Linked DNA regions of Homo sapiens: regions 1, 2, 3, 5, 6 and 7 are each linked to region 4. The links are contacts of gene promoters, found by promoter capture Hi-C in blood cells and fetal thymus (Javierre and others, 2016). All regions are on one chromosome and are shown on one strand. Each heading gives the region's core, a stretch centred on a gene start or on the middle of the fragment in contact. The rest is flanking DNA. Distances are from core to core; before and after follow the strand shown.

Region 1 (3,115 bases), core at 136-2,635, 370 kb after region 4:
ACACTCATTTCCTCTCCTAATTGTTAGTTCATTTGTAACAGTGGGTGAGTGTTTGGAGGAAAGGAGGGAGAAGAAAGGAGGGATACTGTTTCTCCCATGAAATAGTCTAATTGGTTGGGTTGATGGCAGAAGGAAACATAGGGGAGCCTTCCAGCTCACAGCCAAGGGTTGGGCTCTTAAACACTATGCCTAGTGTTTTCTGAATGCTGTCTTCATGGAGCCCAGCTCTTACTCTCTTTGTACTTTACATCTCACCCCCACTCATTACAGATGCTCATAACATTCTTAAAATATTTTAGTACTTGGCATTTTTCTGTTTTCAGTCAGCTAGAACACACTAGAGTCCTTTCCTCAGATGGCATAATCCTTTATAGGCTCTGAGCCTGCCTAGCCATCTCCTATCGGTGTTATTACTCCTCATCTCAGGCTCTGAGATGATACTCAGACCCTAAACTGATTGGACTTTTTGGAGGAGGGTGCCAGTAGAGAGGTCAGGAAGATGTGGAGATGATGATGGAGAGAGATGTTTTTATTTTATTTTATTTTTTCAGACAGAGTCTTGCTCTGTCGCCCAGGCTGGAGTGCAATGGCACGATCTCGGCTCACTGCAACCTCCGCCTCCCAGGTTCAAGCAATTCTCCTGCCTCAGCCTCCCATGTAGCTGGGATTACAGGCACCCACCACCATGCCCGGCTAATTTTTTTATTTTTAGTAGAGATGGGGTTTCACCATGTTGGCCAGGCTGGTCTCGAACTCCTGACCTCAGGTGATCTGCCCGCCTTAGCCTCCCAAAGTGCTGGGATTACAGGCGTGAGCCACCGCGCCCGGCCTTTATTTTATTTTTTAGAGATGGTCTTGCTGTGTCACCCAGGCTGGAGTGCAGTGATGCAGTCGTAGTCTACTACAGTCTTGAATTCCTGGGCCCAAGGGTTCTTCCCACCTAAGCCTCCCAAGTAGCTGGAAGTACAGGCACATACTACCAAGCCCAGTTCGTTATTTTAAGTTTTTGTAGAGACAGGGGTCTTACTATGTTGCCCAGACTGGTCTTGAACTCCTGTCAAGTGAGCCTCCCACCTCAGCCTCCCAAAGTGCTATGATTACAGGTGTGAGCCTCCATGCTTGGATGAGATGTTGTTTTTAATGTTTTTGGTTTTTTGGTTTTGTTGTTTTGTTTTTTTGAGACAGGGTCTCACTCTGTGGCCCAGGCTGGAGTGCAGTGGCACCATAATGGCTCACTGCAGCCTCGACCTCCCAAGGCTCAGGTGATCCTCTTGCCTCAGCCACCCCTTCCCCGGCCACCAAGTAGCTGGGACTATGGGCTTGTGCCACCATGCCTGGCTAATTTTTTTATTTTTAGTAGAGATGGGGTTTTACCACGTTGGCCAGGCTAGTGTCCAACTCCTGACCTCCAAACAGCTAATTTTTGTATTTTTAATAGAGACAGGTTTTCGCCATGTTGCCCAGCCTCGTCTCGAACTCCTGGGCTCAAATGATCCACCCACCTCGGCCTCCCAAAGTGCTGGGATTATAGGCATGAGCCACCACACCTGGCCTTTTCAGTTTTTTTATTTTTATTTTTTCTTTGAGACGGAGTCTCGCTCTGTCGCCCAGGCTGGAGTGCAGTGGCGTGATCTTGGCTCACTGAAACCTCCATCTCCTGGGTTCAAGCAGTTCTCCTGCCTCAGCCTCCTGAGTAGCTGGGATTACAGGTGCCTGCCACCATGCCTGGCTAATTTTTGTATTTTTAGTAGAGACAGGGTTTTGCCACATTGCCCAGGCTGGTGTTGAACTCCTGGGCTCAAATGATCCACCTGCCTTGGCCTCCCAAAGTGCTGGGATTACAGGCGTGAGCCACTGCACCCGGCCCTTTGTAGTGTTTTTAACTAAAGAATTTGTAGAGTTGCCCAGGCCAGGAAGCCTGGTGGCTCTAAAGGGTAATAGACCTTGTCAGTAACAGATAAGGAGTGGTAAGAGGACATTACTCATATTGAAGATGAAGACCAGACTTTGCTGCTTCACAGGCCATGCGCTGGGTTGGGCCACTTCAGCTCCACTCCATTCGTTTTCCTTTCCTAACTTGACAATCAGCTCACTCACCCTCCCTTAGTGCCTCCAGTGCCTACTCCTGTCACTCCAATGTCAACCCATTGGGAGTTGAGGCCTGTCACTCCAATGTCAACCCGTGGGCTGTTACTTTGCGTCATATGATGCTGTGAGAGGCCTTGCTGGAATGTCCTAGGAATCCCTAGTAGCAGTGGCTATTAGTCTTCTAGAAAAGAACTATTGCTGCTGCCTTGTGCACATGCCCCACCTTCTGGGCAAGTGGCAGCATTGCGCTCATGAGGGGCTTTGCATTCTTAGCCAAGGGCAATAAACTGGGTGGGTGATCTGGCCCAAACTTGCCCCTAGGCTCTGCTAGCCCTGAATCAGCAGGCTTCAGAGACGAGGGTGGGTGTTATAAAAGCCAGTCTGTAAAGGGTAAATTCCAAATCTTGTGCCTTGTTATACCAATCCTTCCTGATTCCCGTTTAAACCAACTACTCTATTTCTGTGCTGCCTACATTTTCAATCCTCCCACGCATTAGCAAATTCCTGAAATTTCCTCATTTGGTAGGCCTTCCATAGGAGTCAGCTATGGACTTCCATAGGAGTTGGCAGCTAAAACCAGACTGTGAGCTTCTGTCTCCGTTCTGATTTTTGCTGCACCTCCCAGGGGACAGTCCCCACATGATTACAAAAGCCAGGTGCCCTCATCACCCGTTACCCCTGACCTGTCCACTTGTTTTGAATAAACCTTCATTCTCCAAGCAGATCCCCAAACTTCCTTGTCCTTGTTACACGTCTACCTCACAACCTCACAATTCAACAACAGGTAAATACCTGGATTCACTGATTTCTTTACTGTCCTTCTCTGAGGGTTGGGAAGGTGGGGGCTAGAAAAGGCTCATAATTTTTAAACTCTTGGGAATTAAACTTGGGAATTTCTATTCCTACAGTGTTTTCTCTGGGATTTTTAGCTCACTGATCGCCCTAGAATAGTGTGAACTCTCCAGATAGGTCCTGCTGTGATAGGCCAGGGGAGTAGGCTGTGCAGTGACGGCTTAGGGTAATAAGT
Region 2 (3,418 bases), core at 6-2,505, 350 kb after region 4:
GGGTCAGTGGAGGGGTGATGGAAATAGGATATCAGAGAAGAAAAATGTCTATAGTTTTTTCATAGGATCAGTGGTGTTTTCCAAAAGAAAATAAGTAATGGCAAGGATTCTTTTTAGTCCTCAGGGAATTCCAGCCAGAGCTCTGCCTCTACACACTCTTTCGTGTGGACATTGCCAAGCTTCTTTCCCCAAAAGACAGTCATCTCTTTCCAACTAGTGTGTGAGTCTTAGCTGGGAAAGAAGAGAGAAATGTGTTGGTATTATAGGGACTACAGTTACCTTATTTCTTTTAGGTACCTTTGGGGAGGATGGGTTTATATTAAGTGTGGCATTTTTAACCCATTTCTTTTTTTTCTTTTTTTTTTTTTTTGAGATGTAGTGTCGCTCTGTCATCCAATCTGGAATGCAGTGGTGCCATCTTGGCTCACTGCAACCTCCACCTCACAGGTTCAAGCAATTCTCCTACCTCAGCCTCCCAAGTAGCTGGGACTACTGGCGTGACGCCCAGCTAATTTTTGTATTTTTAGTAGAGATGAGGCTTCATCATGTTGGCCAGGCTGGCCTCAAACTCCTGACCTCAAGTGATCCTCCAGCCTCGGCCTCCCAAAATTCTGGGATTACAGGTGTGAGCTACTGCACCCGGCCCCCGTTTCTTTTTTATTTTTATGAAGGTTTGAGTAGGAAAAGTTAGATCATGGAAAGGGCATGGATTTGTTGAGATGTCTGAATCTCTGTCCTATTCTTAGTCTCTGCCCCCCAGATTATTACTTTGCATTTTCCTCTCCCTTAGATATGGCAAGATTGTTTCCACTAAGGCCATACTGGACAAGACCACAAACAAATGTAAAGGTGAGAGAACAACTGTCCTTGGTGTTGGAGAGCACCAGTAAGTGAGGCCATCCCTTGACACTGCCCTTTACTGCTGAGAGTCCTGAGTCTACAGTGTCAGCGAGAAGTCCCTGAAGTTTTTAGGCTTAAAAGATTAGGAGATATTTAGATTCTTTGGTGACCAGATAGCTAGAGCTGAAAATGCTGTTTAGGGGCCCCAAGGCCAGAAGACTGTACAAAACACCTTTGAGTCTACTGAGCTTATTTTGGACTTTGTATTTCCCTGGATGAGGTGGTAGAAGTGGGTAAGTGAGATTTTCTTCTGCTTAGCAAAGTCATGTAAATGCCTTTTTTGGGGAGTGTTTTGGTGGGTGTTATTTTCTGAGGGTGAGTAGTTTTATTGGGGTTTTGAGCAGTTCTAGATAGAGCTGGAAGAGTGGAAGGAAGAGAAAGGGCTATAAGCTGGGGTGGTGAGGGTCTTCTTCCAGCAGGTGGCTGGTGGTCTGCTCTGGAGAGGCTGCATTCCCTACATGCCTAGCATTTCTGGGGTATATCAAGAAAAGAGGGGAGTGAATTCTTTTAGAGGTGTAGGGGGGCTTTGGGTTATTAGCAGAGCCTAGTTCCTGAAACCTCAAATTTCTTAAGGGGGAGGGAGAAGGGCAGGGACACCAGAGTAGCTCATTGCCTTGGCATTCTTAGCCACAAAGTAGATCACATCTCAGGGTTTGAGGAGCATGTGGATAACTACCTGAAACCTCTCAATAGCTCTTTCTCCCTCCCATTTCTGTTACATGGATCATAACTCTTCCTCTGTCTCCTGAAAAGCCTGGACCTCTCTGTTCCTTACACCTCCCACTTCCTAGTGATGCTGTTTCCTCTGTTCCAGGCTATGGCTTTGTAGATTTTGACAGCCCTTCAGCAGCACAGAAAGCTGTAACAGCACTGAAGGCCAGCGGTGTACAGGCACAGATGGCAAAGGTAAGGGTACTACCCCATGTCTGTTCCTCCAAGGGGTTTGTGGTTAGCACCAAAGTTCCAGTTCTAAGGTTTCCAGAGGGCTTAAGAACCATGAAATTGAGTGGGCAAGGGCTATCCGTGGTGCTTTCTAGACAGTCCATGAGCACCCCTGGCTGCTGGAGGAAGATGTATTCAAAGTCTATGGCAGGTAGCTCTATCAGCTCTCTTCCTTTCACCAAGTTATTGGCAGCAAGAAAGGTAAGGTGGCCTCTTCCGGTACTCCTGCTGCTTCCCCGTGTTCCCTATATTATTCACCCTGGCCCCACTTCCCTACCAGACAGCTTGTGGTGGTTTTGCAACATTCTCTGAACAAGTCAATTGTGCAACTCAGAATTTCAGAACAATGCTCTCCACCTCCTAATGTTGTTCCCCATACGGGCTGGGTAGTGGGCTGGGGAGGCAGGAGGGAAGCCACATCAAGGGAGGAAACTGTCTCTTCTCAGATCTGTCTGAAACTGTTGTCTTCACCTAGACTACTAGAAATCTAGAAGCTTTTCTCTCACTTCTTCTGTTAGGTGGGATTGTCTCCTTGCCTTTCTATTTTATTTTATTTATTTATTTATTTTGAGACAGCGTCTCGCTCTGTCGCCCCGGCTGGAGTGCAGTGGCGCAATCTCGGCTCACTGCAAGCTGCACCTCCCGGCTTCACGCCATTCTCCTGCCTCAGCCTCCCAAGTAGCTGGGACTACAGGCACCCGCCATCACCTCCAGCTAATTTTTTGTATTTTTAGTAGAGACAGGGTTTCACCGTGTTAGCCAGGATGGTCTCGATCTCCTGACGTTGTGATCCGCCCACCTCAGCCTTCCAAAGTGCTGGGATTACAGGCATGAGCCACCACGCCTGGCTGTCCCTTTGCCTTTCTGAAGCTGTTATGAGTATTATACATAGAGCTTGTGAGGCAGGCCTGCTAGACACCTTTTCTGTAATGGTTAAAGAAAAGGAAAACAAAAGGAAAAGGCAGAAGAGGATTAAGGTTGCTGGTGACCACTGTTTAGGGCAGAGTGACTGCTTAAATTCTTAAAAATACAACTATTGGATGATATTGCCATTTTGCACATTCTGTCCCCTGGAAGGGCTCTCCTACCTCTTCTTCCAGGAGTAAAACCCTCTGACAAAAGCTCAAAGGTTTAGGAGCCTTCAGGGTCCTAGGAGACTGTAGCTTTCAGGGCTCCGTGGTGACACAGTGAACTCTGCATCTGGCTCTCTCCCTGTTCCCTTCTCCCCTCCTCCTGCTCTTCCTCCATCAGGGAGTGAACAGGCATTCCTACTTAGAGGATTCTGCGTGGCTGGAAGAGAAGTGGGGAGGGGCTGCTCAAAACAAGCCAGCCAAGGAGCAAGGCAGTCTGAGGGAATCCAGCCTCTGGGACCGGCTGCTGGGGGAGAGCGGGAATGCTGCTCTGCCTGTTTCTAAAAGAGACAGCCAAACACCATTTATGACTTGTATGATGGGCTTGTATAGTACTAGAAATATTAAATCTGCACTTCTCCCTCCTGGAACTCAATATACAACCCGTGGTAGTGGGACTGGGTGTTAACAAATAGAATAATCTTTGTTTATGTGGGACCCTTCCT
Region 3 (3,187 bases), core at 554-3,053, 470 kb before region 4:
ATAGTAGTAGCTTCTCAATAAATGTTGGTTTGTTTGTTTCCTATTTTCACATTCTCTAGTTAATGCTCAGCACTCATGTGAAGCAAGAATTATTATTATCTGTATCACACTGAGAAGTTTGGTGAGTAAGGTTAGATAGTGGTTAGTAAGGAATCAGGCAGTGATTAAACCCACTTCAATTATAGCCAAAGAACAGAATTTAGATGCCAGGAAGAACTTTCAGGCACTTGCCTGTATAATTTAAGATTGGGAGTTTAGGGAGTTCATTCACCATGTATTTATTGAGTGCTGTCTAGCACTATGGGAGGCACTGAAGCTACAATGGTGAGCAAAACAGACACAGTATGAATAACAACAGTGTCCACTCTCATGGAGATTAGTACCTAATGGCAAGAAAATAGACAATTCTTATGCTGAAATTTGTAAAGTATGCTATTTGGGATGTTGCTTGTCACTCCCCATCTCACTAGTAGCTTCCCTATCCCAGCTACTTCTGATCTCTGAATTCTCACCCCCCAAACCCTACTCCATTGCACCATCACTGAAGCTCCAGCCAGTAAAATAACTGGACTACCAGGGCCCTGGGACCTCAGAGAATAATCAAGAAAAAAAAAAGCTATAGAGACTTTGGGTATCATATCCTGAATATATGAAGTTCATTAAGCACTTTCTCCTCATCTCCCTTAGAAGGTCCTCTTTCTCCCAGGGTGGGGGTGGGGAAGAGCTGACAGGACACCCTAAGTCCATCCTGATTTTGCAGAACTCAAGACATGGGGAGGATACTTAAAGGCCTAGACTTCCTAACCCTGCTTATATGGCTCTGGAAGCTCATTCCTGATTCTTCCTATCTAGAGTCAGGATAGACATATTCTGTCCAATGGAGACATGTTGTAGGACACTCCCAACTGACTTAGGAAAGGCAGTGAAGAGGAGCTGGAATGGAGGCAGAGGCAGATATTTATTGAGAATCATCTATTAGACCCAAGAAGGATCAATTTAAGGTCCAGAGCAAGGGGAAATGGGTCAAAATGTAAAGTTGGGATGTTCAAACTTTGTAAAGACCTACTGGCACTAGACTGAGAAGTCAAAGGAAGCTCAGGGGAGAAAAAAGGCATTGTAGTTAATCTGGTGTATTTAATATTATTTCTGGTGCTTTAGGCAAATAGGAGGCAACACCATGGAGGTAATTATTCCTTTCCTCAAGAGCTGGGGGCAGTCATGGTGATGATGATGGAGCAGCAGCTGAAGAAACTTCTTAAGAGAGAATGGGGAGACAGATGTATAGGAAGTGCTTGGATAGTTCCATTTTGCTGGGTGTTATTCCTAATGGGAGTGAGGCAAGAAGCCTAGATCTGAATTCTGGTTTACATAATGGGATAAATTTAGCTCATGCTCCCTATCTGGACCCTGGGTTATCCCCTCTCTGAGGCCATCTGTGTTATTTTGTGGGGGAGGGATGTGCCAGGCTCTACCTGTCCAGCAGATAAATCAGAGCAGATAGGGGAAAGGTGATGGAAGGGCAGCAGGTGTGATAAGAGGTATGGCTTCTATAAAGAGCTTCAAAGATTCAGAAAATGTTGGAGCCTTATATGCTGGGAAAAGTTGGACAGTAAGGATGGTGGTGGATGAATAATTTTGCAGGTTATCTGGTAGACAGGAACCTATATATTAGGGCAAATGGATTAGGAAATGGACACAGATCAGTAAGGCCTTATAGGGCCATCATCCTAAAGAGGAAGTGCTGTTTTAGGTACCGGAGACATGGTATAAGATAGGCATGGGAGAAGGGTAAAGAAGAACTGGAAAATCAGGCTGAGAAGTCCAAAATTGCCAGTGCCACCCAGGACTACTGATCCCCTACACAAACACCCTTTGCTGATGCTGTGCCCTTCTCTCTTATCAGCGGACCCAGCAGTACAGACAGATGGCAGCCCTCTCTGCTGCCATTTTCACTTCAGCCCCAAGGTGATGTTCACAAAGGTACTGAAGGCCCAGCTGTGGGTGTACCTACGGCCTGTACCCCGCCCAGCCACAGTCTACCTGCAGATCTTGCGACTAAAACCCCTAACTGGGGAAGGGACCGCAGGGGGAGGGGGCGGAGGCCGGCGTCACATCCGTATCCGCTCACTGAAGATTGAGCTGCACTCACGCTCAGGCCATTGGCAGAGCATCGACTTCAAGCAAGTGCTACACAGCTGGTTCCGCCAGCCACAGAGCAACTGGGGCATCGAGATCAACGCCTTTGATCCCAGTGGCACAGACCTGGCTGTCACCTCCCTGGGGCCGGGAGCCGAGGGGCTGGTGAGCAGGGGGCCTGAGGTGGTGGATATGTGTAACCTGGCCCTGAGGAGATAGGGTTACATTGGAAAAGGTAGACAAGGAATGTGAAGGAGGTTGGGGACCAGCATTACTTCTCTGGGGTCAGCAGCTGATTCTAGAGGAGGAGGTGAGGAGTGGGGTGGCAACTATTACTTCTCAAGGATCCAAATCAGACAACAGCTGAAAACTGGATTTGAAGGTAAAGGTGTCAGTTAATGGAAGAGCTGTGAGAACAAAAAAACTGGCTGTTGAGGCGTTGGGCCAAGGGGCTGACAGGGATCAGGTTGCCAGAAGAGTAAGAATTAGAGATGGTGAGTTGAAGGAGAGCTAGCTAGCTGGCAAGAAAAGTGGGCAAAAGATAAATTCTGGGGGTGGGAGCAATGGAAAAGCTGAGAAGTCAGCAGTCTCTATTCTGATGCCCCTGGCAGGTGGGAAAGGAACAGGGAAGAGGAACTGTTCAGGACCATATCACATTTCTTTCCCCTCTCCCTGACCCTCAGCATCCATTCATGGAGCTTCGAGTCCTAGAGAACACAAAACGTTCCCGGCGGAACCTGGGTCTGGACTGCGACGAGCACTCAAGCGAGTCCCGCTGCTGCCGATATCCCCTCACAGTGGACTTTGAGGCTTTCGGCTGGGACTGGATCATCGCACCTAAGCGCTACAAGGCCAACTACTGCTCCGGCCAGTGCGAGTACATGTTCATGCAAAAATATCCGCATACCCATTTGGTGCAGCAGGCCAATCCAAGAGGCTCTGCTGGGCCCTGTTGTACCCCCACCAAGATGTCCCCAATCAACATGCTCTACTTCAATGACAAGCAGCAGATTATCTACGGCAAGATCCCTGGCATGGTGGTGGATCGCTG
Region 4 (3,281 bases), core at 511-3,010:
TTGGGAAGCCGAGATGGACCAATCACCTGAGGTCAGGGTTTTGTTTTGTTTTTTTTGGCGGGGGGTGTGGGGAGACAGAGTCTCACTCTGTTGCCCAGGTTGGAGTTCAGTGGTGGAATCTCAGCTCACTGCAACCTCTGCCTCCTGGGTTCAAGCAATTCTCCTGCCTCAGCTTCCCAAGTAGCTGGGACTACAGGTGCATGCAGCCATGCCCCGGCTAATTTTTTATATTTTTAGTAGAGACGGGGTTTCACTGTGTTGCCCAGGCTGGTCTCGAACTTTTGAGCTCAGGCAATCCGCCCGCCTCGTCCTCCCAAAGTGCTAGGATTACAGGCGTGAGCCACCGCGCCCGGCTACAGTCAGAGGTTTGAGACCAGCCTGGCCAACATGGTGAAACCCCATCTCAACTAAAAATACAAAAAATTAGCCAGGCATGGTGGCAGGTACCTGTAATCCCAGCTATTCAAGAGGCTGAGGCAGGAGAATCGCTTGAACCCAGAAAGAGGTGGCACTGAGCCGAGATTGTGCCACTGCACTCCAGCGTGGGTGACAGAGTGAGACTCCGTTTCAAAAAAAAAAAAAAACAAGAATGCAAAATAAATTTAGAGTACTGAGAGTCGGAGAGGAAATGCTTGACAAAAGCTTGTTCCTTCTTTTTACTAGAAGGCAGGGCTAGCCACAGGTCGGTCGGCTTAACATTGCATCACTCACATTCCCTACCACTAGTCCACTACATTCTTATTTGGGGCAAAACTATCAGCCAACAACACTATCAGTCTCTTGCCCTATTGTCAGACTCTAAAACCCCTGTATAGAAAGGGATAACACTATCACGGGCCAGTCCCCAAGAACAGTGGCCTCAATAACAGCCCCACTTGCTATTAAATGAAATGAAGTTTCTGAACGGGGAAGCAGTCTGTCAATCCCTCAAGCAAAACGCCTTCACCCCTCCTGGCTTTCTGCTCTTCCTCTAGCCCCCTCCTCCCCACTACCCAATTTCCCAAAGTCCTGAGTTAGGGAAGGCCTTCCAGTGTGTGGTGTGTGAACCCTGCCAGAGAGCCAGGCTGCAAACCAAGCGCAGGGATGTGAAGAATGTGAGATTCCTTCATGGAGGGCTGGGAGGGGGTGAGGAGCGGGGAAGGAATGAGAGGACAAGGCTGCCAACGACAAGGCATGGGAGAGGAGCCAAGCTATGGCGCTTCGAGGGCGGGGGTTTAGGTTCCACCGCCCCTGCCCAGGCTGGCCCCCGGAATGCTCCCTTCCTCCCCTTCTGGCCCGTCAATCATTGCCCATTTAAACACCACGCTGTTCCCCCAGTTCTGCAGGTGCCGGTCCTCCAGCTAGCCCCGGCCCCCTCCCGCACTTCTCAAAGCTCCCCTATTCCAATGGACCTTCCCCAACAACCCGTTCTCCAGAGCCCCCTTCTCACCTCCCGACTCCTCGCCAGTGCTGCTCCCTTCTCACATTTTTATCTCTACCACCATCCCTCCTCCTGAACCCCAGTTATTTCAACCCCCCGCCCCAATACCCCTGGGACATCACCTCCTCCCCTCCCACACCCTCTTTTAGGTGGAAGATCGCGCAGGCGCAGTACGCACCGCCCTGGAAGCGGCCTGGAGTCTCCGCAACCTGACCCAGTCGGAGCTGAGGCCGCAGCGGCCACAGTACTGCCCTGGTGCCGGGTCCCAGCCTCTCCCGGGAAGGGAAGGGAAAGGGGAAGGAGGGGAAAGAAGACTCCTACCACTCGTCGCCGCCTCAGACGGATCCTTTGCCCCGCCCACCGCTGCTACGCAACCCGGCGGAAGCTCGTCACCAAACCCCGCCTCTTTGTTTAACTCAGCCCCTACACCAGCAGCCAGGAGCTGCCTACGAGGAGGGACGAAGGCTGGCCAGGCCTCCACTCTAGACAGGAAGTCTAGTCTAGAGTCTATATGGTCCCAGCCAGGACTATGTAGCCATTTAGGAGGGAGAACTCTATGTTCTTCCCGGCAAAAACGTGTGGGCCTGGCCGGCCACGCTTCGCTTTGGAGGGGTGCAGGTGACTTGTGTCTTAGAGCTGACGCAGATTGTTGCGAGATCATTGCGGAGAGGCAGGCCTGCAGCGTGACCTGCTGCGGGTCCGGCCCCTCTCCCTTTTCCAGAGCCCTGGTCAGCATCCCAGAGCTTCGTAACCCCTTGACTCCTGTCATGGGAATGGATATTGCAGTTAACAAGGCGGCCGCGGGGTGGGGAGTGAGGGAGTCTGACCGCAAAGCTTAGATCTGGGGTGCTCAACGGGTTGTCTGCCTCTCTCCCAGGCGCTCTCCTGCCGTATCCACGATGGCTCCCCGAACACTTGTGGAGTTCCCTGAAACACCTAAGAGGAAGGAAGGGAGAAAAAATTTCCCTCTTCCTGAGTTGGGGTTTGATTTCCTTAGCTTACAACACCGTGGTGTTGGGGATGTGGGCGGTAGAGAACGTGGGATCCAAGGGAAGTCAATGTGGAGCCTAAAGAGCTCCGTGAGCAGATAAGGGATTAATTAAGCAAACCAAGGCATTACAATCACATGACTTCCTAGACTAATCTGGTATTAAATAGTATGGTATTTATTGTGGACATTGGCTAAGCAAATGCTAATGCACATTAATACACACATACACACATATCTTTATGTAATTTGTTTATACACAACAATACAGAGCTAGCTACCTTTTGTGGACAATTTGACAGGTCCCAAAAGGAACTAAAGTTTCAGGCCTCCTTTCTGCTGTCTTCTAGCGGGACTCTGAGATAAGTAAGATAAGAGTAGTATGGCCGGGCGCGGTGGTTCATGCCTTTAATCCCAACACTTTGGGAGACCGAGGCTGGTGGATCACGAGGTCAGGAGTTTGAGCCCAGGCTGGCCAACGTGGTGAAACCCCGTCTCTACTAAAAATACAAAAAAAGTAGCCGGGCGTGGTGGCGGGCGCCTGTAATCCCAGCTACTCGGGAGGCTGAGACAGGAGAATCGCTTGAACCCGGGAGGCAGAGGTTGCATTGCAGTGAGCCGAGATCGCGCCACTGCACTCCAACCTGGGCGACAGAGCAAGACTCCTTTGCCGGGGTGGAGCGGTGGGGCGGGGCGGGGAAGAGTAGTATGGCCAGGTGCAGCGGCTCACGCCTGTAATCCTAGCACTTTGGGAGGACGAGGTGGGCGGATCCCTTGAGGTCATGAGTCCGAGACCAGCCTGGGAAACATGGCGAAACTGTCTCTACAAAAAAAATACAGAAATTAGCCGAGGGTGGTAGTGCGAACCTGTAG
Region 5 (3,067 bases), core at 368-2,867, 260 kb before region 4:
CAGCTGGCAGGCTGGGCTGGGTAGCACAGGCTGGCACAGCCGCTGGGCAGGGGGCTGGCACCCTGGCGATGAGATCTCCATGCAGGCTTCCTTGGGCAGCCTGGAAGAAGTGTCAGCATATATAAGGGGATCTGGGAAGGGACACTAAATGCCAGAGAGCGGAGAAACAGTCAACCAAAGAGTTACCAGCACACTAGTGAGACACTCACCCGCCTTGGCAGGACACAGTCAGCTCAAATGCATCCCCCTCACCGGACGGCACAGCCTGCAGGATCTCGGCACTTTCAATACCCTCTGCAGAGTTGCAAGCTTATCAAATTAGGATTCCTCTACCTGGCCTCCCCAAAAGCCCAGAGACAGAAAAGCCCCAGGGCTGCTCCACCAATCCCATCCCTGTGCTTTCAAATGAGGACTCTGGCATTTGGGTATTCTTCCTATCTAGGTGAGTAATTCCTCCCAAGGTGTGCTTCCACTGACCAGCCCTAGGTAGCACACAGCTGCCTCCATCAGCCACCAAAGTAGGCAAGACTCACGGACAATGTCCAGGGTGACGGAAAAGGAACCATATCGATACAGAACACAATCCAGGGGGACTTGTCTCTTCACCAGCCTTAAGGTGGCTGTACCATCCAGCAGGGGGCCCAGGGAACCTGGCAGGAGAGGATCAAGGAGGCAAGATCAAGAGACAGATGACTCATCTGGAGGCAGAGGCCAAGCAGGCATTTTTTCAGGTTGAACCAGAGTTACTGGATTCTGGAGTCACAGGCTTGGAATCAGATAAGACCTGGGAAACCTTATTCTATAGATAAGGAAACTGAGGCCCAGAAGAAGAAAATGACTCCTCCAGAGTCACAGTTAGGGGTGGCATTGGAGTTTTAAAAAATCCTCAAATGTTTATCACACCCCACACTATGTCAGGTCCTAGGCTAGACATTCAACGTGTGTTAACTCATTTAAGCATCACTGTTTCATTCCTCCCTTTTTGCTTTGGGATGGGAATCCAGGGTTGGGAAATGGAAGGATCAGGATCTCGGAATCTGGGAAGGATTTTCGTGCATTTATGCTTGAACAGAAAATGAGCTATAAATATTATATAAATGATCACAGTCTGTTCCCTGGTCTCGCCAACCGTTCTCAGCAGTAGAGAAAGCAACAAGCTCTTTCCTCATGGCCTAGGGGAAGACCTTGGTTTCCTGAACTCCAGACCTATTCCATGTCATTAAGAGAGACTGGAGGGCTTTATAGCCAGGCCAGTGAGAACTCTGAGGGGACCATAGTGCTAAGCAAAGGATTGGGTAACATCTGAGTCCTGGGTAAGACTTACAGAGTAGAGTAGGGTACCCCACCTCCGTGAACCTCATTCGCACTGATACTCTTACCTGTAATACTTTCCGTAGACATGATTGAGCTGGCATCTGGACCTTCAGGCTCAGGGATAGGTAGCTCTCTAGCTGTGGTCTCCACCCACTCTGTAGTTGTTACCTGTGCAGCTGTGGTTCCAGAAAGCACCACAATTGATACCTCTGCAGGTGTCATACCTGTAGCCTCTGGAGTTGACATCTCTGCCAGTGTGGTACCCATGACCTCTGAAACTGGCACCTTCTCAGGTGTCATACCTGTGCTCTCTGCAGTTGGCATCTGCACAGGTGCAGTGCTTATGACTTCAGTGGTTGGCACCTGCACAGATGTGGTTCCAGAGGGCTCTGCAGTTGGCGCCTGACCAGGTGTAGTACCCACAACTTCTGTAGTAGGCACTTGGCCAGCTGTGGTGTTAGGGGCCTCTGCAGTTGGCCTGTGCCCATCTGTGGTGCCTGGAACTGGGGAGGAGCCACAGGAGGTGAGAGGAATGGCAGCCTGCAGGACCACCTGGGCAGTGACTGGGCCAGGCTCCAGGTAAGTATGAGTGACCACAAGTGCCCGAGAGATCAGGGTTCCACTACTGTCTCCAAAGTCCCAGGTGTAGGAGAGGTCAGCTTCAGCCAGATAGCCACTGGGGTCATGGAGCTGGAGGGCAAAGGTCAGAGGCTGATTTCTCAGGAAGTGCTTGTTCCCTCCATCCAAGGCCCGCAACTGGGACACGCTCACGGAGAAAGGCACCTGGTCTGGGATTGGAGCCAGAAAAGGTGAGAACCAGGCCTGAGCCACAGCTTCTCCTTTCACAGCCACACCCTCCAACTCCAAGCTGACTGGCTGGCCCTTCACTGGCACTAAGCCTCACATTTCTCTGCCTAGGTCTTCCTGGCCCTTCTACTTTAAGTTTGCACAGCATTTCACCTTTCTCCTTTCCAGTCCATCCAAGCCTCCCTGCCTTCTCTTGCCCTACAACTGGCCTTGCCCCTTCCTAAACCCTTACCAGTAATGGTGAAGGCTGAGCTGGAATGAGCAAGAGGCACATAGCTCCGGGATCCCCGGCGATGGTAGACAGTCACTTCCATGGTGTGTGTGCCCAGCATTGCCCTGCCTGTCCCAATGCTCAGCCCAGACACTGGGCCCCCTAGAACTTGCCAGTATTGGCCTGAAGTTTTTGGAATGAAAAGCAAGGAAGAAGAGATTACTGGTCAAAGGGGACTGAGGGACAGGCTTCGAAACGGCACTGGAGATGGGAGGTCAGGAAGTATGATTACTTCTGAGGGTGTTTGGAAGGCTGTGATATGGGGGGACAGGGAAGGGGTCCTAATGAGGCATTCCATGGGGTAGGACTACAATTGAGGAAGAGTTGCCAGAAAGAATTATGATAGAGTTGAAGGGGGCTAGGTGCTAAGAAAGAGAAAAGATCTAAGAGGAAAATGAAGATTAGAGAAAATCACAGAAGTTAAGGTGGAAGGGGCGGCCAAAAGAAAGGTGATCAGGTAGAAAGAAGTAAACACAAGTGTGGATGATAGGCTGAGAAGGGAGTCCCTCACCCCAGGTCTTCCAGACATAAACAAAGCTTCTCTTCTGAGACCAAGAGCCAGATGGGCAAGGTCCACCATCAGGGAAGATGCAGGCATCGTCAGTTTCCTGGGGATACACTGGCTGTCCTCCCCACACCTGGCTCCCTGAAAGATAAATACAGAGTCACTCTCAA
Region 6 (3,442 bases), core at 906-3,405, 280 kb after region 4:
TGGGATTACAGGCATGAGCCACCGCGCCCGACTTATCTCAGTATTGTTTTTATTTCACTTTTTAAAAATTATGAATGAGGTTGAACATCTTTTATATATTTAAGAACCATTGGTGTTTCCTTTTTTATGAAGTGTTTATTCCTATGTTTTGTCCATTTATCTGTTGGATATTAAAATTTTTAAGTTTTATTATTATTATTATTATATATATTTTTAAGAGACAGGGTCTTGCTCTGTCACCCAGGCTAGAGTGCAATGGTGAGATCATAGCTCACTGTAATCTCAAACTCCTAGACTCAATTGATCTTCCTGCCTCAACCTCCTAGGTAGTTAAGACTGCAGGTGAATGCCACCACACCCAGCTAATTTTTGTATTTTGTGTGTGTGTGTGTGTGTGGAGAGGGGATCTTGCTGTGTTGTCCAGGCTGGTTTTTCAAATTTCTAGCGTCAAGTGATCCTCCTGCCTCAGTCTCTCAAAGCGCTGGGATTACAGGTGTGAGCCACTGTGCCTGGCCAGATATTAGGCTTTTAATATGTGTTTTTAGGAACTTTTCTTTTTCTTTTTCTTTTTTTTTTTTTTTTTTAGACGGAGTCTCACTCTGTCGCCCAGGCTGGAGTGCAGTGGTACGATCTCGGCTCACTGCAAGCTCCGCCTCCCGGGTTCACGCCATTCTCCTGCCTCAGCCTCCCGAGTAGCTGGGACTCCAGGCGCCCACCACCACGCCCGACTATTTTTTTTTTTTTTTTTGTATTTTTAGTAGAGACGGGGTTTCACCGTGTTAGCCAGGATGATCTCGATCTCCTCACCTCGTGATCCACCCGCCTTGGCCTCCCAAAGTGCTGGGATTACAGGCGTGAGCCACTGCGCCCGGCTGGAACTTTTTGGAAATTAGCTCTTTATGAAATGAGTTGCATACATTCTCCCCTCCCTGCTAGTTTATCATTTGACTTTGGTTTTCCATTTGTGGATTTGTTTGCCATGTAGAAATGTTTTCTCTTTATGTGGTCAGGTCAGCTTTCTTTTTTCTTTTCTTCTTTTTTTTTTCTTTTTTTGAGACCGGGTCTCACTCTGCCACCCAGGCTGGAGTGCAGTGGCGCCATCATGGCTTACTGCAGCCTCGACCTCCAAGGGGTTAGGTGATCTTTCCACCTCAGACTCCTGGGTAGCTGGGAGTACAGGTGTACACCACCACGCCCAGCTAATTTTTTGTATTTTTTTTAGAGACAGCGTTTTGCCACGTTGCTCAGGCTGGAGACTTACCATCTCTACAATGACAAAAAAATCCATTGTTCAGCTAGAGGTTCACATGTGATCCTTTATTTCTCCTGCTTCCATATCCTTTACATCCGATAATGGGACTCAAATCCATCCACTTCTCATTCCCATTGCTACTATCTTAGTGAGGCTTCTTAATTTAGGTCTCCCATCAGTTTTACTCCCTTCCATTCGTTACAGTATAGCCACAAGTGGTCTTGCAGAAATGCAAATCTGATTATGTTGCTTTTTAAATATAACCCAGTGGCCAGGCGCGGTGGCTCACACCTGTAATCCCAGCACTTTGGGAGGCCGAGATGGGCGGATCACGAGGTGAGGAGATCAAGACCATCCTGGCTAACACGGTGAAACCCCGTTTCTACTAAAAATACAAAAAATTAGCCGGCCGTGGTGGCGGGCGCCTGTAGTCCCAGCTACTCGGGAGGCTGAGGCAGGAGAATGGCATGAACCTGGGAGGCGGAGCTTGCAGTGAGCCTAGATGGCGCCACTGCACTCCAGCCTGGGCGACAGAGCGAGACTCTGTCTCAAAAAAAATAAAATAAAATAAAATAAAAAATAAATATAACCCAGTAGTAATTTCCCAACTCTAACATAACTTGGAATACAATTAAAAGTGAGTGGAGAAAAACAAATGAGAGATGAGGACATACAGTTAGCAAATGTAGATTACTCTTGATTATGGGGAAAACTAAGAATATCTACAGAAGAACATAGGGTACAGGGAAGGGCTTTTGTTTATTTGTTTTTTATGTATGTTTTCATCTCTCTTTTAATTTTAATTTTTTTTTTTGAGACGGAGTCTCGCTCTGTTGCTCCAGAGTGCAGTAGCACCATCTCGGCTCACTGCAACCTCCACCTCCCGGGTTCAAGCGATTCTTCTGCCTCAGCCTCTTGAGTAGCTGGAACTACAGGCGAGCACCACCACGCCCGGCTAATTTTTGTATTTTTAGTAGAGATGGGATTTCACCATACTGGCCAGGCTGGTCTCGAACTCCTGACTTCATGATCCACCCACCTCAGCCTCCCAAAGTGCTGGGATTACAGGGGTGAGCCACCACTTCTGGCCCTATCTTGTCTTTTTAAAAGGTCATCATGTATCCACATGTGGAGGAGGAAAGCCAGTAGAGATATCAAGGTTGAAGATAGCAGATAAATATGATATGCTAAGAATGCAGAGTGAAATAATGAGGTAGAAAACTTAGAGTGGTAAATGTTTAGAACAGCTATAGTAAAGACTAGGAGAGGGCACTAACTCTAGAGTGTTGTAGGAATGCTGGGAAATACTGAGATTTTGATGAGATTAGAGATTTTGTACTTTAAATACTGACATAGAAAAAAATATATACAGATTTTATGCGAAGTACTATTGAAGTACTTTTATGTGGCAGTACTTTGAAGACTTCAGTCTTCAAAGAACAGATTTTCCAAGAAATAAAAAGAGAAGGAACACTTCACAACTTGTTTTGTGAAGCTATTGTAAACTTTAAACCCAGAACTAGACAAGGACAGTATAAGAAAAGTAAGATATAGACCAATTTTATATAAAGAAATAAATGCAAAAGTCATAAAATATTAGAAAATTGAACACACACACGTGGCAAAGTCGTGTTTATCCCAAAGATGCTAGAATGGTGTAATATTAGAAAACATGTAGTCGCACCACATCAACAGATTAAGAGAGAAAAATCTATATGATCCTCTCAAGTCATTGTAGAAAAATTATTTGATAAATGTCTTTCAAGCAAATATTTTCAAAGCTCTTAGCAAATGAGACAAGAAAAGGAATGTCTAGACCAGGCATCATGGCATATGCCTATAATCCAAGCACTTTTGGAGGCCAAGACCAGCAGATCACTTGAGGACAGGACTTGGAGACCAGCTGGCCAACGTGGAGAAACCCCATCTCTACTAAAAATATAAAAATTAGCTGGGCACGTTGGCGCATACCTGTAATCCTAGCTACTCAGGACACTGAGGCATGAGAATTGCTTGAGCCCGGCAGGCAGAGGTTGCAGTAAGCCGAGGTTGTGGCCACTGCACTCCAGCCTGGGTGACAGAGGGAAACTCTGTCTCAAAAAGAAAAGAAGTGCTGGGCACAGTGACTCACACCTGTAATCTCAGCACTTTGGGAGGCTGAGGCAGGTGGATCATGAGGTCAAGAGATCG
Region 7 (3,050 bases), core at 1-2,500, 270 kb after region 4:
CCTATTGGTGTCCCTTACGACAGAGACTCGAGTAGTGGTGAGGTAGTGTTGTGTCAGAGACTCGAGTAGTGGTGAGGTAGTGTTGTGTCAGTCTGGCTACTTTACTGATGGTGTCCATGTTTCTGAGTGTCATCAGGGAGATGGCAGCGACGAGGGAGATGGCCCATTTCCTGTTCCTGCTACAGTAGAGCAGGGGCTCTTTGGACAGTGTCTATGCTGGCCCTCTGGGGAGGACAAGATTTCCTGCTCAGCACCGTCTGGGTCTCAGAGAAAAAGGCTCAGCCACCAAGTGTGTCCTAGGCGGTGGGGAAGATAAAGGTTTGGCATCCTGGGTGGAAGAAACACCCAAAGGAAGAGAACGTTTTAGATTCTGGAGCCTGGGCAGCACAAATAAAGGCTCTGACTGGCTCTGGTTTGGGAAATCTGCGTCTTAAAGACCTTTCCTCCATTACAAATATTCTCCCCATTCAACAACCAGTTTGGAAATTCCCCCCCATTCTGCTGTTCAGGGAGCACTGCTACGCACACACCCAACACTTATGGACGTACCTGCGCACCAATAATACACGCGCATCACACATTACCTGCCGAGAACACGCAGAAACACAACACACAGACCCCAGTACACCTGGACCGGAGGCAGGAGGCTGTTCCACATCCACGCATCTCCTAAAATACACACGAGGACTAGGGAAGGTGAGGACTGGCGGCGTGAGCCCGGCCCTGCACTCAGACACGTGAGCCAAGCAACACTCGGCGCGCATCTGTGATCCGGGTTAAGTGCGCACCTTGGACAGGCGCCATCCCCAGGACCCGCTTGCCCGAACGCACTCCTAGGCAGACGGCAGATTACCGCCCGAGCGCGGCGCACCCAAAGCCCCACATCCAAAGGAAAAGGCACCGAGGGCTAGTGAGCGAGGAGAGGGGAGATGAGCGGCGCTGCCTTGGAAGGGCACTCGGGAACTAGCGAGAACCACAGTGGGAGTGGGGGCAAGCCCGTCCCCTGCCCTGTCCCAGGAGCCTTACTGATCCTGGTGCTGCGGCTGGTGGCTGTGTGGCGTCTCTCTGCCCTGCGCCGCGGCCTCACTGAGGTGGTGCCGGACGCCCCCGCCAAGGAGGGGGCTCCGGCTCGGGTGACCCCAGCCTCCTCGCCCGCAGTGACTGCCAGCCCGGCTCAGGGCCTTCTGCAGAGCCTTCATGGAGCGCATGCCCCAGCAAGCCTCCGGCTCTGCAGGTGCGCCCGGGACCTCTAGCTGTGGCTGGGAAGGAGGGGCGGAGCGAGCGAGACAAGGTGCGGGGGAGTTCTGTGAGGGAGCGCTGGACCTGGAAGACGGAGAATGTGGGCCCGGTGGGTGGGGCTGGGGCTGGGGCAGGAGAAGGGGCCTGCCCCTTTAAAGCTGGCTCCAGGGTTAGGGGCACCCTCAGGACAGGGGCTAGGTGAGGAGCGTTGGGGATGAAGGAGAACCCGGGTGGCTTTCTAGTGGGTGGAGAGAGGGCGGTGCCTGGGAGCTGGAATGGACAATGCCCAGGTCCAATCACTGAGGAAGCAAAAACATTGAGGCGGGGAAAGGGTAAGGTTGCCCAATGAGAGCAAGACGGTGGGACCTTGCGACAGTCTGCGGATGCTTCCGCGTGGGCCCGGCGAGCGCGGGTATCCGCGGATGCTGAGGGCGGGAAAGGCGAGGACAAGCTGAGGCGAAGCCGGTGGGGGCGGGAGGCGCTCCCCGGGAACACCGTGGGGCTGCGAATGATGGAGTTGTCGTGTAGAGAGGAGGGTGCTGCCTCGAGAGAGGAGGCTAAGTAAGAGTGAGCCCAGTTCAGGAGGTCACTCAGAGAGCCTCGACCTCCGAAGGCCAAACCAGCGCCCAGTAACCCGGCGGGTAGCGTGGCGCGCGGCCGACGTGCGGTGGTGCTGAGTGGAGAGTAGGATGACTGCTGGGTACCCCGGGCAGAAGCAGCCGACCAGCACCTCAGGGAGGCATTGGGCGGCGGGAAGGTCGCTCTGGCGGTTAGGAAGCCTGGGTTCCAGTTTGTGTCCCTCTACCATTTATTTGGTGTAGGACTTGTTTTCAAATCTGGAAAGTTAAGACATTAAAATAAGTTGGCACGCAGAAAAACGTTTTATAAACCATGAAGTGCTCCCCACATTTTTCCTATTTTAATTGTTTGCCCTTGTCCTCCTCACGGGCAGAAAAGAGGCGATATACAAAAAGCATTTTGAAATCCAAGAACATTCAGGACTTTTGCCATTTGCAGCTAGAACTTTCACCTTGTATCTCGGCAGCGCCTAACCCAGCATCCATATTTAGTAGGGACTCATTATGTAAATGATAGCTATTATTGAGTGCCCATGGTGTTCCAACCGCTTAGTTTCTCTCTCCCTCTTACCAGAGACCTACAAAGTAGTTATTAGTCTCAATTTGAAGGTGAGGAAACTAAGACTAGGAAATTAAGAATTCTCGCATAAGGTAACCCAGCTAGTAAGTACCAGAACCAGAAATTAGACCCGTTTTTTTTTTTTAACTACAAGTCTCTCCTTCATGCAGCCCTTCTCAAAAATTAAGCATTGAATTGAATTATCCCGGGAGAAATGACCCCATCCCTAAAGGAGGTATTTTATGTGGAAGTATTATGATACAGTACTGGGAGTCTTTTCCTTGTGATAGTTCTGGCTGTATCACAAAATACTAGTTTTTGTTTGTTTGTTTTTGAGACGAAGTTTTGCTCTTGTTGCCCTAGCTGGAGTGCAATGGCGCAATCTCGACTCACTGCAACCTCCGCCTCCTGGGTTCATGCGATTCTCCTGCCTCAGCCTCCCTAGTAGCTGGGATTACAGGCGCCTGCTACCTCGCCCAGCTAATTTTTTGTATTTAGTAAAGATGTGGTTTCGCCATATCGGTCAGGCTGGTCTCAAACTCCTGACCTCAGATGATCCGCCCGCCTCAGCCTCCCACAAGTGCTGGGATTACAGGCATGAGCCACCGTGCTTGTCCCATAGTTTTCATTTTTGGATTAAAATGAGTTTCAAGGGTACTCGTGGGAAAACAAGT

Evidence for each region. The method cuts DNA at HindIII sites, captures the fragments that hold promoters and counts their contacts. A CHiCAGO score of 5 or more calls a contact.
Region 1: a fragment that was not itself captured here is called in contact with the fragment with the promoter of RNF41 in region 4 in 1 of 17 cell types (fetal thymus); the score reaches 5.8 in fetal thymus.
Region 2: a fragment that was not itself captured here is called in contact with the fragment with the promoter of RNF41 in region 4 in 4 of 17 cell types (M1 macrophages, erythroblasts, activated CD4 T cells and 1 more); the score reaches 7.4 in M1 macrophages.
Region 3: a fragment that was not itself captured here is called in contact with the fragment with the promoter of RNF41 in region 4 in 3 of 17 cell types (fetal thymus, naive CD8 T cells and total CD8 T cells); the score reaches 6.6 in fetal thymus.
Region 5: a contact is called between a fragment that was not itself captured here and the fragment with the promoter of RNF41 in region 4, in 2 of 17 cell types (naive CD4 T cells and activated CD4 T cells). The highest score is 5.4, in naive CD4 T cells.
Region 6: a fragment that was not itself captured here is called in contact with the fragment with the promoter of RNF41 in region 4 in 1 of 17 cell types (activated CD4 T cells); the score reaches 6.0 in activated CD4 T cells.
Region 7: a contact is called between the fragment with the promoter of GLS2 here and the fragment with the promoter of RNF41 in region 4, in 1 of 17 cell types (activated CD4 T cells). The highest score is 5.2, in activated CD4 T cells.

Annotation. Positions count from the first base shown.
Region 1 is chr12:56,591,981-56,595,095 of GRCh38, forward strand. It overlaps RBMS2 (RNA binding motif single stranded interacting protein 2), which reads left to right. Exons shown (of 14, transcript NM_002898.4): 14 at 1-3,115. Among named protein-coding and RNA genes, the nearest start is that of BAZ2A, 37 kb to the right of the region's middle. The HindIII fragment of the contact is 7,914 bases long and covers 1-3,115 here.
Region 2 is chr12:56,568,185-56,571,602 of GRCh38, forward strand. RBMS2 (RNA binding motif single stranded interacting protein 2) reads left to right here. Exons shown (of 14, transcript NM_002898.4): 3 at 791-849; 4 at 1,715-1,806. Among named protein-coding and RNA genes, the nearest start is that of RBMS2, 48 kb to the left of the region's middle. The HindIII fragment of the contact is 2,157 bases long and covers 178-2,334 here.
Region 3 is chr12:55,746,683-55,749,869 of GRCh38, forward strand. It overlaps GDF11 (growth differentiation factor 11), which reads left to right. Exons shown (of 3, transcript NM_005811.5): 2 at 1,904-2,301; 3 at 2,820-3,187. Among named protein-coding and RNA genes, the nearest start is that of GDF11, 5.2 kb to the left of the region's middle. RefSeq lists enhancers at 1-336, 337-840. The HindIII fragment of the contact is 9,248 bases long and covers 1-3,187 here.
Region 4 is chr12:56,220,162-56,223,442 of GRCh38, forward strand. It overlaps RNF41 (ring finger protein 41), which reads right to left and starts at 1,761. Exons shown (of 7, transcript NM_005785.4): 1 at 1,599-1,761. It also overlaps a transcript of NABP2 not described here. RefSeq lists enhancers at 1,683-1,732, 1,719-2,653, 1,953-2,172, 2,654-3,281, 3,004-3,281. The HindIII fragment of the contact is 1,612 bases long and covers 641-2,252 here.
Region 5 is chr12:55,955,570-55,958,636 of GRCh38, forward strand. PMEL (premelanosome protein) reads right to left here. Exons shown (of 11, transcript NM_001384361.1): 4 at 2,904-3,038; 5 at 2,354-2,515; 6 at 1,380-2,102; 7 at 534-650; 8 at 210-294; 9 at 1-100. Among named protein-coding and RNA genes, the nearest start is that of PMEL, 8.9 kb to the right of the region's middle. RefSeq lists an enhancer at 1,336-1,837. The HindIII fragment of the contact is 2,620 bases long and covers 308-2,927 here.
Region 6 is chr12:56,502,963-56,506,404 of GRCh38, forward strand. No RefSeq gene overlaps it. Among named protein-coding and RNA genes, the nearest start is that of SNORA105C, 8.2 kb to the right of the region's middle. The HindIII fragment of the contact is 5,999 bases long and covers 1-3,442 here.
Region 7 is chr12:56,486,911-56,489,960 of GRCh38, forward strand. GLS2 (glutaminase 2) reads right to left here and starts at 1,251. Exons shown (of 18, transcript NM_013267.4): 1 at 1,027-1,251. The coding sequence starts at 1,208. It overlaps LOC124902944 (a long non-coding RNA gene), which reads left to right. Exons shown (of 2, transcript XR_007063331.1): 1 at 1-42; 2 at 77-422. RefSeq lists an enhancer at 788-1,007 and a silencer at 1,168-1,597. The HindIII fragment of the contact is 16,217 bases long and covers 1-3,050 here.